2 separate regions of the Homo sapiens genome follow, and region 2 is linked to region 1. Evidence: promoter capture Hi-C in 16 types of primary human blood cells and fetal thymus (Javierre and others, 2016). All regions are on one chromosome and are shown on one strand. Each heading gives the region's core, a stretch centred on a gene start or on the middle of the fragment in contact. The rest is flanking DNA. Distances are from core to core; before and after follow the strand shown.

What was found. Contacts are between HindIII fragments. The CHiCAGO score rates a contact against its expected background, and 5 or more counts as called.
Region 2: a fragment that was not itself captured here is called in contact with the fragment with the promoter of RGSL1 in region 1 in 4 of 17 cell types (M1 macrophages, M2 macrophages, M0 macrophages and 1 more); the score reaches 8.2 in M1 macrophages.

Annotation. Positions count from the first base shown.
Region 1 is chr1:182,448,786-182,451,485 of GRCh38, reverse strand. It overlaps RGSL1 (regulator of G protein signaling like 1), which reads right to left and starts at 1,340. Exons shown (of 22, transcript NM_001137669.2): 1 at 1,308-1,340. The coding sequence starts at 1,320. RefSeq lists an enhancer at 895-1,502. The HindIII fragment of the contact is 4,233 bases long and covers 1-2,087 here.
Region 2 is chr1:182,755,810-182,758,509 of GRCh38, reverse strand. No RefSeq gene overlaps it. Among named protein-coding and RNA genes, the nearest start is that of NPL, 33 kb to the left of the region's middle. The HindIII fragment of the contact is 5,923 bases long and covers 1-2,700 here.

The sequences.
Region 1 (2,700 bases), core at 91-2,590:
GCACAGTCAGCTCACAAATTAATAGTCATCCATTAAGAACTGGTTTACATATAATCTTGGTGAGCCAAGAAAGGTAGAATCTACTGCAATGGTAGAATTCATCACTATCTCCCTATACCATCACGTATATCCTCCATTATTACAATTAACAAGTCTGACTGTTTTTATCCATCGATATATCTGTCTTCCTCATCAGACTGAGCGTGTGAGAGGAGGGACTTTGTTTTTTCACCTTTCTTCCTCTAGGCTCTAAAAGTGTTTGCACAATGTCTAAGTTCTGTAAATGTGGAATAAATTGTTCTTTCAAAAGATAATCTTCAATCTTTTTTTTTTTTTTTTTTTGCCAAAGTCTCACTCCGTCACCCAGGCTGGAATGCAGTGGCAAGATCTCAACTCACTGCAGACTCTGCCTCCCAGATTCAAGTGATTCTTGTGTCTCAACCTCTCCAGTAGCTGGGATTACAGTGCATGCCACCACACCTGGCTAATTTCTGTATTTTCAGTAGAGATGGGGTTTTACCATGTTGGCCAGGCTGGTCTTGAACTCCTGACCTCAGGTAATCCACCTGCCTCAGCCTCCCAAAGTACTAGGATTACAAGGGTGAGCCAACGCTCCCAGCCAATGATTTTCAATCTTTTGGACTTTTGTTTGTTTATCATTCATAGAGTCTAACATGGATTTGTTGAATGAGTATATTACTGAGCCCATCTGAATACAGAAAAGTGGGGTTTGGCAGAAATTCCCTAGTGATTGTTGTTCACAGCTACACACACCGCTGGTGGCAAGGGGCCTGACTATGCTAGGGCTTGCCATTGCCAAAACAGTCTTAAGGAGATATAGAGACAAGGCTCTGTACATCCTTCCCTTCCTCATCCTCTCATTTCTCCATTCTTGTTTTTCCTTCTTACCTGTTCTGCCTTCAAACTTCCTAATAATTTGAGAAGGCTTTTAGCACCCATTCCACGCCATAATAATATTGACTTGGCAACAAATGAAATCACTGCATAATCTCAAACCCCATACCAGTCTTCTCTCTGGAGGAGAGGTGGCCCAATCCACATTTTACTTCCTCCCTCTTGCCTTAGTTGTCTTATGAATAAGGCCCTGTACTATCCTCAAAGATCTGGTGGCAGAAGGTAGGAGGAAGGGGAAGAAGGAGAAAGAGAAGGAAAACAAAGGCATGAATAACACAAAAGTCACCCATGGTGCCCCTGAATGGCTCAGATCTATTAACAATTGGGAAGATGAATGGTTTGCCTTATTTGAGAGACTCAAGGCCTTGGAGACATCCCTGGCAGAGACTCACCAGCACTGCTCATGTTGCCATGCTCTTCCTGACACAGTAATTTGTTAGGGGCAGAATTACCCCCCAGTCAATAGAACTATATCCATTGTGAACACGTAATGACACCTTCTCTAAGGGGTTCCAGATTCTATCTGGCAGTGATCTACTTACCTCTGGTGTAGGCCTTAATCTGAAGATAAGTCTTTATCTTACCTAATCTGCTGAATCCCCTTGGACATACAAGACTCCTCCTATACTTAAGCCTTTAGTTCATACTATTTTATTTGACAAGTTCTTTATAATTGTGCCCAAGATCTCTTGTCTGCTCCAACCTCTCCCATGCTAGGGTGACTTTTGCATTGCTAAACTCAGCTCCTAAGGGTCTTGTAAACGGTTACATTTGATGTAATTTTAATAAGCAGTAACTCCTGGATATTCTGCCCATTTAAAACATCAACCTCCATTGCTTCAGCCCAGGAATTCAAGGCTGCTGTGAGCTGTGATCACACCACTGAACTTCAGCTTGGGCAACAGAGTGAAACCTCATCTTTAAAAAATTAAAATTAAAACATCAGCTTCCAAGAGGTTTGAACTCCCTTCCTCTGAAGACTCTTCAGGCTCTTGGTTTTCTCATTAAACAACTCTTCATTTCTCCTGTTCTTCCCTAATAGGAAGTAAATATTAAGATGAGAGACCAAAAGCCCTATAATCCTTCAAACTTTAGCCAAGAATTACTGAGAATAGAATTCTTCAGTGTCACACCCAGAGAGGGCTTTTAAGTCTTGGGATTGTAGGGAAGCTTATATAATGTCCAAAAGGCTTTCCTATGGGGGGTGGAGGGAAAACTGAAAACTGGAAGGATTATTGTTAATAATGAATCGTCAATACAATATCACTTACATTTGAAAAAGTGCTGTACTTTCTTTAGAATATATAAAGACCAAATACTGCATTTTAAAGTGATTTTAGTGAGAAGAGATTCTTGCTTTACATCTTGATGTTCTATGTATTGCAAGATGAGATTGTAGCTTACCATACTTCTTCAATCTGTTATCAATTACCTTATTCACCTTATTAATTAGTCAGTTTAACATGCACACATCTTAAGAGAGTTCAGTGTGAAGCACTGCATGATTCTACAATATCATATTATTCCTTGAATTATCACCTCTTTTGCAAAATAAATAGAGTCAAGGTCTCCTCCTAAAATAATGGCATATACAGTAGTAATATATGCTCACATTCCTTAAGATGGAATGCTTTCAGACTGTTTTCAATCAAGCTGTGTGCACCTACCCTTGAGTCCTAATTGCTGCCCCACCGTCTTTCCCACAGTTCAAAAAGGCTGACTGTTGGAGCCATTAACAACCAAATAGGGTCACTCTAAAAACAGTAAAGATGAAAAGCCAGTATC
Region 2 (2,700 bases), core at 126-2,625, 310 kb before region 1:
ATGGTCTCGATCTCCTGGCCTTGTGATCTGCCCACCTCGGCCTCCCAAAATGCTGGGATTACAGGTGTGAGCCACCACGCCTGGCCGATTCCCTGACTTCTATCCATGGGTCCCTTGGAGGGGAATGGAGGATGGGGTGTAGGAGGAATCTGAGGACCCCAGATTAAAACCCCTATTTTACAAAATGTATTTTTATAAATTTAGAGGGTACAAGTGCAGCTTTGTTACATGGTATACTGCATAGTGGTAAAATCTGGCCTTTTAGTGTACCCATCCCCTGAATAGTTTACATTGTACAAAATGTGTAATTTTTTACTCCTCGCCCTCCTCCCAGCCTTCTCATCTTTTGGAGTCTCCATGTCTGTTATTCCACTCTGTGTGTCCACATGTACCCCTGTTTAAGTCTATATTCCCTGTCTATTTTTTAATCTTCCATTCGTGTCTTAATTTTATGATCCCTCAAATATCTAACTGTGTATAAGAGTAAGCAATCTTTGTAGTATGGTTTTTACCCTCATGACCCAGGGTGACTATTCTCACCAAAGTCACCAATGTTCCCCCAGGTTCGAAGGACTTTTTCCCATTTTTATATTACTCCATCTCTCTGCAGCCTCAGACACCAAACCGTTCCCTCCTTGGAACTTTCTCCTTCCTGAGATTCTGCAATATTCTTCTCCATGCCATGACACAGTGGTTTTAAGCCCTCATAATGGTGGGAGTTTTTTCAAAACACAGGGCTGGAGCTCTGTTCTCTGAGTATTCTGAGAGGGAAGGTTTGGGGTAGGGCCTAGGCATCTGTTTAATGCTACATAAGGAGTTCCAGTTTGTACCAATTGAGAATCACTGCCTTTGTTATTTATGAGTGCTGGATGTATGTTTTCCACTGATAACTATAATAATAATAATAATCATAGCCATAGACTTAGTAATGTTTTTCTCTCACACTGAGTTTTTTTTTTTTTTTTTTTGAGGTGAAGTCTCGCTCTGTCGCTTAGGCTGGAGTGCAGTGGTGCCATCTCAGCTCACTGTAACCTCTGCCTCCCAGGTTCAAGTGACTCTCCTGCGTCAGCCTCCTAAGTAGCTGGGATTACAGGTGACTGCCACCATGCTCGGCTAATTTTTATATTTTTAGTAGAGACGGGGTTTCACCATGTTGGCCAGGCTGGTCTTGAACTCCTGACCTTAGGCAATCTGCCCACCTTGGCCTCCCAAAGTGCTGGGATTACAGGCATGAGCCACTGTACCCAGCCTCTCCCACTGAGTTTTAAAGCACAGCTCTCATTTAATCTTTTCTTGGCTTTATTTCCAACCTTAAAAATAAGAATAAAACAAAAACTCCACTTCCTTCAACAAGGAGATGTATATATTAATGAGGAAATGTCTGCAAAATTTTCGCAATATCTGGAATCAAATGTATTTTGTAGGAATAAAAACAATAATTTCTTTTCTTTTCTTTTTTTCTTTCTTTCCTTCCTTTTTTTTTTTTTTTAATGAGGCAGGGTCTCACTCTGTCACTCAGGCTGGAGTGCAGTGGTATGATCACAGCTCACTGCAGCCTCGACCTCCCAGGCTCAAGCAATCCTCCTACCTCAGCCTCCTAGGACTACAGGTGCGTGCAACCACATCTGGCTAATTTTTGTACTTTTTGTACAAAAATTTTCACAATGTTGCCCGGGCTGGTCCTGAACTCCTGGACTGAAGCAATCCACTGTCCTTGGCCTCCCAAAGTGCTGGGACTACAGGCATGAGCCACTGTGCCCAGCCAATAATAACTTCTTTATTTTGGAAGCAAACAGGGAGAAGGCAGAGGTAGATTCTAGGGGTGGTTTGTAAACTGCTGATTTATGGCCAATGATAAGCAATGTTAGTCTATGTGTGAAGATGTGAGACAAGCAGAAAGTGAGTGTTTGCAGGTGTGACTTTATAGCTAGGGAATATAGATAGCAGAGCATTGTCATAGAATCTTAAAGAAACATTGACTCAAATCTGCAAGGAATCTTAGAGTTTTCCATCTTCATTCTTTATCCCCATGATCACATCCAGTCAGGGCCACATTATGACTTTCTTGGAACCCCAGCAGTTCTGCTTTTGCTCCATGGGCCGAGATGGGTGGATCACGAGGTCAGGAGATCGAGACCATCCTGGCTAACACAGTGAAACCTGGTCTCTACTAAAAATACAAAAAATTAGCTGGCATGGTGGCACATGCCTGTAGTTCCAGCTACTCAGGAGGCTGAGGCAGAACAATTGCTTGAACCCGGGAGGCGGAGCTTGCAGTGAGCTGAGATTGCGCCACTGCACTCCAGCTTGGGCTACAGAGCGAGACTCCATGTCAAGAAAAAAAAAAAGTATCTAAAATTATATTTTATGACTGCATTGGCATAAAATCACCTGTAATCCAGGCTGGATTTATTATTACATATTCATTATTATATTTATGTTTCCTTTGGCTTAAAAAAATTAAAAGTAAAACATTTTTATGGGCCCCTAAAAGCATCATGGGCCCCAGACACTTGCCTCCTATGTCTAATGGAGGAGTCAGCCCTGCCTGAGAGAGGGAATGCACTATCTTTTCAAACAGCCCATAAATTTCCATTTAAAAACCATTTGAATTGATAGAAAGTTTATAATATGTATATGCACTTCTGTCATGTTTTTCTAGTTCTTTTCCTTAGAGCCAGTCTCCTCCCTCTGTCTCAT